Linked DNA regions of Homo sapiens: region 2 is linked to region 1. The links are contacts of gene promoters, found by promoter capture Hi-C in human tissues and cell types (Jung and others, 2019). All regions are on one chromosome and are shown on one strand. The core of a region is centred on a gene start or on the middle of the fragment in contact, and the rest is flanking DNA. Distances in the headings are between cores, read along the strand shown.

The links. The method cuts DNA at HindIII sites, captures the fragments that hold promoters and counts their contacts. A contact is called where the count stands out against the background at its distance.
Region 2: a contact is called between a fragment that was not itself captured here and the fragment with the promoter of SLC25A36 in region 1, in 1 of the 25 tissues and cell types used here (hippocampus).

The regions. Positions count from the first base shown.
Region 1 is chr3:140,939,630-140,943,403 of GRCh38, forward strand. It overlaps SLC25A36 (solute carrier family 25 member 36), which reads left to right and starts at 2,207. Exons shown (of 7, transcript NM_001104647.3): 1 at 2,207-2,466. The coding sequence starts at 2,426. RefSeq lists enhancers at 2,181-2,550, 2,644-3,491, 3,131-3,360. The HindIII fragment of the contact is 6,402 bases long and covers 1-3,774 here.
Region 2 is chr3:141,410,813-141,414,418 of GRCh38, forward strand. The region is part of intron 5 of ZBTB38 (zinc finger and BTB domain containing 38); the gene reads left to right. Among named protein-coding and RNA genes, the nearest start is that of ZBTB38, 44 kb to the left of the region's middle. The HindIII fragment of the contact is 4,547 bases long and covers 1-3,606 here.

The DNA.
Region 1 (3,774 bases), core at 957-3,456:
AACATATGGGTACAGGGAGGGGAACATCCACTCTGGGGCCTGTCGGGGGTTGGGGGGCAAGGGGATGGATAGCATTAGGAGAAATACCTAATGTAGACAACGAGTTAATGGGTGCAGCAAACTACCATGGCACATGTATACCTACATAACAAACCTCCACATTCTCCACATGTATCCCAGAACTTAAAGTATATTAAAAAAAAAAAAAAAAAAGGAACTGGTAACAAAGAAAATCTCAGAAAGTTTCTTACTCTTTTCAGTTAAGAGAAGGATGGAATATATGTAAATTTAAATTTATATAAACATTTTTCCTAACTAAAAAAAAAACTATGTATGAATTTCAAACTTTTTTGCACCAAAAATTCGTACTCACTTGTTATAATGTATCTGAACAAGATCTAGTTTGAGGCACTAAAAAGGATAAGACATCAGCTTGAAAACAGCCCCTATCAGAGCAGCATGAATTGAAGCAAGAAAAAACATCAAATTTATGGTCAAGATTGGGTGGAAGAATGGTGAAATCAAGGATGCTTTACAAAAGTTTGATGGGGAAAATTCCCCCAAAGAAATCTGAAGTTTACAAATGGATAACTTGTTTGCAGAAGGGATGAGACAATGTTGAAGAGGAAGCCTGCAGTGGCAGACAATCCACATCGATTTTTGAGGAAAAGATTATTCTTCGGTGTGCCCTAATTGAAGAGGACCCACAATTAACAGCACAAATAATATACAACACCATAGACATTTCAACTGGTTCTACTTACACATTTCTCACTGAAAAACTGAAGTTGAGCAAACTTTTCACCCGATGGGTGCAAAACTGTTGCACCCAGATGAGCTGCAGACAAGAGCAGGGCTTTCAATGGAAATTGTAAACAAGTGGGATCATATATTGAAACATTTCTTTGAAGAATTGTAACAGGAGATCAAACATAGCTTTCTCAGTATGATTCTGGATCAAAGCAATAGTTACCAAGAGGTGCAAGTGGTCCAGTCAAATCAAAAGTAGACTGGTCAAGAGCCGAAGTCATAGCAGCAGCTTTTTGGGATGCTCAAGGTATTTTGCCTGTTGACTTTCTGGAGGGTGGAAGAGCAATAACATCCGCTTACTATAGGAGAAAGTGAAGCAAAGCTTTAGCATAAAAACACCTACGAAATCTTCACCAGAGAGTCCTTCTCCATCAGGACAATGTTCCTGCTCATTCCTCTCTTTAAATAAGGGCATTTTTCCAGGGATTTCGATGGGAAACTATCAGGTATCCATCTTACATTCCTGACCTGGCTCCTTCTGACATATTTTTGTTTTCTAATCGTGAAAAATCTGTAAATGGCACCCATTTTTCTTCAGTTAATAACGTAAAAAAGCCTGCATTTTCATGATTAAATTCCCAGAACCCTCAATTCTTTACAGATGGACTAAAGAGCCGGTATCATCACTTACCAAACTGTCTTTAACTTGATGGAGCTTACGTTGAAAAACAAAGTTTATATTTTTAAATTTTATCTTTTAATTCCATTTCCCATGAACTTTTATTCTTTTAAAAACAAACCCAAGTATTTTAATTCTACTTGCCTTTTTTACTTATTACACACTTCGGGAGATTTTTTGCCATATGGAATCACCTCATCCCTTGTCACGATTGCATAATATTCCATAGTAGGAATGTTTCATGATTTATTTCTTCATTCCCCCACTGATTTCAATTTTCTGCAACTGCAAGCATTGTTCATAATTCTGTACTGTTTGTGAGCCTATATAGGAGTATCCGTGCACAAACCTTTTTATGCATTGTGCGAGGGTTACTCTGAGATAGACACCAAGGGAACTGCTGGGTCATAAATCCAATTTTTTCAAAGTAAATCCGCTTGCGAACCCGGAACCAAGTCGATTTTTCCCGCCCCGCCAGTTCCCTGTTCAGGAGAGTGCAGCCGTGATTGGCGCGTTCACTCAGGCCAGGGGCGCCCCAGGTCTCAGGTGCTAGGAGCGCGGTGACCTACCACCCTCCGGGCACGCGTTCTGGCCACGCCTCGCGGCCCCTTTCATTGAAAGAGCCCGTAGGGATCACGTGAAAGAACACTGCAGAGTGCGTGACGTCACGACGCTCACACCAATGGGAGCCTCTGTTTATGTCGGGAGCCATCAAATAGTCATCTTCCCCCTACCATCCCCCGCCCACTCTCCGTCGCGCTGCGCTGCGTCGCTTTCAGCCTCTGGTGAAGGGCGGCGCGCTTAGGCAGGCGGTGGCGCGGCTGGAGTGCCGCGGGGAGGGCTGTGCCGGTTGCTTTCTGCAGCCGCATCTCGGCCAGCTCTCCTCGCCGTCCCCGGGGCGCTGTGCGTCTCCAGTCCGGGACCGAAGCCGCCTGCCGTAGCGGGCGGCCAGATCCGCGTCCCGCCTCAGCGGCCGGAGGACATGCGGGAGAGAGAATGAGCCAGAGGGACACGCTGGTGCATCTGTTTGCCGGAGGGTAAGGTCCTGGCGGGGCGTGCGCACTGGGGCTGAGGGTGCTGGGGCCGAAGACGCAGGCGAGGGGGGCGAGGGGGGCCGAGGGGGGTGGGGGGGTGGGGGGGCGGGAGTGAGGCCTGGGCGGGGAGCTGCCACGGGCCTGCGGGTGAGGGGAGCGACCCAGCCCGTGGGTGGTGAGGGGGGCTCCGGTTCGGGGAAGCAAGGGGGTGAGGCCCGGGCCCGAGGGCGAGAGAGTGAGGCCCGGGCAAAGAGGGTTGAGGCATGAAACCCGGGCCGGGAGTGAGGTTTTGGGCCCGCGGGGCCGGGGTGAGGCGGAGGCCGAATCCATGCGTCTGAGGAGACGCGGGCAAGAGCTGGGGTCGGCGCTTGATTACCCGGACGCCGCTGGACCTGGCCGCACGCCGCAATCTAGCAGGCGTCGGGGATCCAGGGCCGCTTTGAGGAGCCTGGCTTCGGATTTCGCGTAGGTTGCATGGCCCAAGGGGACGGGGCGGAAAGTGCGGAGGCTGAGGACAAAATGGGCGCCGGAGACTCCTTTAGCCCTCGCTCCTTGCAGCGCTCGCTTGGGCCTCTGCACGTCACTCACGCCCCACCTCGGACCTCGGGCCGCTCATTTCCGGGCTCGGCTTTGCAAGGTGGGTGGTAAGGGGGCTACGGGATCGAGCGGGGAAGGCTTTGGTATTCTCCCGTGGTTGCTGTAGGGTGTTTCTAGCCCTTGGAAAATTTCTTGCCCGAGGTTTTCCAGGTGGTGAATGGGGTGCAAAGCTTTCCAGTACCTTTGGGGTCAGATTCCTTTCGAGAAAACCACCCCTCTTGAACACCGCTTGCTTTTCTGCTGCTTAGGAGAAAGTAGGAGTGGAGAGAGGTCAGATTTTTTGAAGATAGTGTTAATAGTTACTATGTGTGTGCAAGATTAGGACTAAGCCTAAAGTCTTAGTTCCCTGATTGCCAAAATGAGTGTTAGAGCTTCCAGTTTAGCCTCCTGTTTAGATTTGCTCCTTCTAAATCATTTGGAGAATCATAGCAATTTTAAGAGTTACTTATTTGGAGGATTATAAAGAGTTTTCTTATCAAAAATGCCTTCGGTGAATTATGCTGAGACTCTTACCGGCATCTTCTTAAATCCTGCAGTTTTTAGATCGACTTTTAAGAATATGAAAGAAATACACACGCAGTTCTATTCACGGTGCCTTGCTTTGAGTTGGACATATGGACTCTATTGAGCCAGTGATGGCAATACTTTCTTTAGGTTGGCACACTTTCATCAACAAATATTTGTTGTACACCAATTATGGGCCGGCCACTGTTC
Region 2 (3,606 bases), core at 812-3,311, 470 kb after region 1:
AGAAATTAAAACATTTACGCAGGGAGAGAGGAAGACCCAGCTTGCGCACCCCTATTTTTCTGGCCACTACTGTGAGTGTTCATACCAGGATGCATTTTCATGAAAAATCCAGTGGCTGTTTAAGTCCTGGAAGGGTATCTTGGGATTATTTCAGCAACCCGTGAAGGCAGGCTTTGTGCAAGGTGAGACAGATATGAGCTGTCACTTCCTGCTTTGTGAGTTGGATATTGTTTCTAGGCCCTGTTTTATTTATGTTATTTTTCCTGTTCATGTGTTAGAACAACTGACTGTTTGTAGAGTTGATGACAATTAGATAATAAGACCACCAATTCAGTCCAAACAAAGATGAATTCATTATCTTGCCAGGCAAGGGAGACCCACATATTCAGATCAGTCTCCCCATACTTTTGTGCGTTTTCATGTAAGCATGGAGATTTCCGATTAGTTTTAATAGCACAGTGATTGGCTCCTAGACACCTAAATGAGGATTTCCTTTTTGAAAAACCTACTCAGCATTCTGATCTGTCCCTGCTTAAACCTATTTAGTCTGGTCTTATAGTCCCTGACTTGAGCCCAAAGAGCAAGGTTTCTCAAGGTCTCTGTGCAGGTCTTTGATGCTCTTTCGTGGAAGAGATTTACAGTGGTTACAGCCATAACCGGTGCCTGTGGCTGAACCATGCCTTCTGTAGTGTGTTCAGCCCTTCCCTTGAATTAATGCAAGTTCCACCTTTGCTTTAATGGGAGGGGACAGAAGGACCACTTTGAGGAAGCGGAGGCAAGAAGATAGTCTGCAAAAGCCATGACGTGGCACTGAAATGAAGCCCTGTGTAGGGTTTTACTCAGACGTTAGAGAACTGGCTGCCCCTGAGTGCTGTGCTAACTAGGGAAAGAAAAAAAACCCTGACCTTTAAAATTTTTCCTGTGAAGGTCTAGCAATTCTGGAGTGTCTTCAGCGACTACACAGTGTAAAGCAACTTTTTGCACAGAAGCACCATAAATTACCTAAATGGAAATTTGCTTCTAAGTGAAGTTCTTACCCTGTCTGTTGGATATTTAGTATTGTCAATATTTGTTTTTGTTTTTGACATTTTCAGGAAACCAAGAGCTTTTTGTCACATTTGAAGAATCTCTTTTAAGAGTTTCTTTTCTATTTATAATGCGTTTCTGATAAGAAGATTTGCACCTTTCTCTATTTTAGAAAATACTTTTTGAGGTCTTTTGTTTTTCCTTTTATGAAGTTTAAATAGTTGTCTTAACCTCCAATCCTAGCAACTCCCTTACATTAAAAATGACCTATATTTTTTTTCTCCCATGAGGTTCCTTTGCTCAGAGAGAATAAGAAAAGTTCTGGTAATTAGTCACTGTGGTATTCTGTAAACAAATACTTTGGAAGCTATGATTTATGTTACTGGTCGGGAAGAAAAAAAAATGGTTTTGTGTATCTCTAGACGATTACCCTTGTGAAAGGCAAGTGCCTCGTATTCCCAAAAGGTCTCTTGGGTGCCCTGTTTGTTGTGTTAAGGTCTCTCAAAGCCGGTGGCCATTTTCTGCGAGCTGAATCCCTGTGTGAAACTCCTCCCACTGTGAGGTCTACGAGCATTTGTTTTCTAAAATGAAAGCACAGGCAGAAACTCAAGCTATTCTACAGAACAGTCTGTTCTTTTGATTTTTTTTTTTTTAGATCAGTATATTTAAAGCATAATTTTTCTAAACAACATATTGCGAGTGTTTACCTGCAGTGGTTTGGAGTTTGTTTGGGGAGTTTTAATTATTTTTTAATGTAGACAACTTATTTACCAACATCATTGCTCCTTCTGCTCAGATAATTCTACCCTAAACCAGGTGAATAGGGGAACTATGTAGGCACCTGACTACTGCCAGAAACTTTCCTTCTGTTTCTATTACCTTTCTTTTGGGGTGAAATTGGCAACAGCTCACTGGAACTTAGCTCCCTTAATATTCTTTCTCCCTCCCACAATTTTTTCCACTCGGTTTTTTTTTTTTATCTGAACCATTGTTCATCCATTTGAAACACTGGCCAGAGTTTTTGTCGCTTTTCCATAGTAGGAAAGCCTTTGTGCCTCTCTTTGTACCTCAGACCTACTGGTGGGCTTGCCGGACAGCTCTGCCAAGCGCCTGCGTCTCCTGAGCCTATGAAGAGGCGACTTTCACAATCCTGTGCTGCCTTCGAGCTCTGTGCTGCCAGGCCTGGCCTCCCTCCAGAGGTCGTAGTGTTGCCAGCAGTGGCTTCAAACTGGAAACATGGGAGGAGGAATTGTGGGAAATGGGGAAGAAGAAAATGTTTGTGCAGGGAAAGTGTGTACGTGGACTTAAATAAATATCTGAGGGCCCAGGCCCATACAGATGATCTCTGTACGCTGGTATTTTGCGCCTGGAGCCAGGTGTCTGTTGACAGTGGGGAGGAGGTGGGGAAGACCCAGCCGGCCGAGAGCCTCAGCCACCTTCCTGCAGGAGGTCCTCACACCCCAGACGGTCAGAATGCTCCCCAGACTGAGGAATCAGCTGCACATCCCCCTGATGTCTCTAAAGCTGAAATCTGCTTCCTGGGTTTAGCCACCATTTTCATTGAGCAGTTCTGAGGATTCCTTGTGGGTACTTGTGATCTTGGTGGAGATGCTTCATGGTGTTGACCCTATTGTTTTGAATACCTGACAGCTGGATGGTCCAGGCCCTATTTCTATGATCTGTTTTTTGGAACTGTTGTATTTGTGTGACACAGTGATGGAGCATGATGTCAACTCCCACATACTGTAACCCAGGAAGGAGCATGATGTCAGCTCAGGATACCGGAACCGATAAAAACTCAGTGAGTGTTGCTTCCCCCGTTACACACCTGCTCATGATGACTTGTGGGATGCTTGTTTTAAAGGAGAGCTGAGTGCCTCTGATAGAAAATCTGATTTCATGAAATGCTTATTAGGAGTTAAGTACCCCTTTTTCTTGAAGCTTGAACAGACTTTATCATTAATGTGACTGACTGGAGCAAAGTGAAGAGTTTGATACCTGCCACTCTGTCTCTGAAGATTTACGTAGAGAAATTTTCCCCATAGGAATGGACAAACTAAAGGGATCCTTAAGAAATAGTATGTCACCCAAATATATTCTGTGGTAAGGCTTCTCAACACCTGTTCTTCATTAGGACGGAGCACTCTGAGAGTTTTGAAAACTTGAATACTGACATCTCATCATTTAAATTTTAGAAGGACAATGACTCACAGTACAGAGATTAAAATTTCACAGGCAGAACAAAACCTACATGTGATTTATACTTACGTTTTTATAGACTAAGATCTAAAACTCACATACATACAGGAACAGGAAAGTAATATGAACATCAAATGTGGGCTTGGTATAAGAAGGTAAGCAAGTGGTTAGATTGTGGCAAACTGGAGGTTTGAAACTTTTTCACACAGATAGGGGCCTGATGAGAGCGTCTGCAGGCCGAATGGAGCCTATGGACTGCTTCTTGCATGCCAGTTGCACGCCATTTGACTCAGTCCGCTGATCCGAATTCCCTCAGTGGCAACCTGCCCAGTCTTCTCCTGCAGAGCGTTGGGCTTGAAGCTGTCTAAGGCCCAGCCCAGG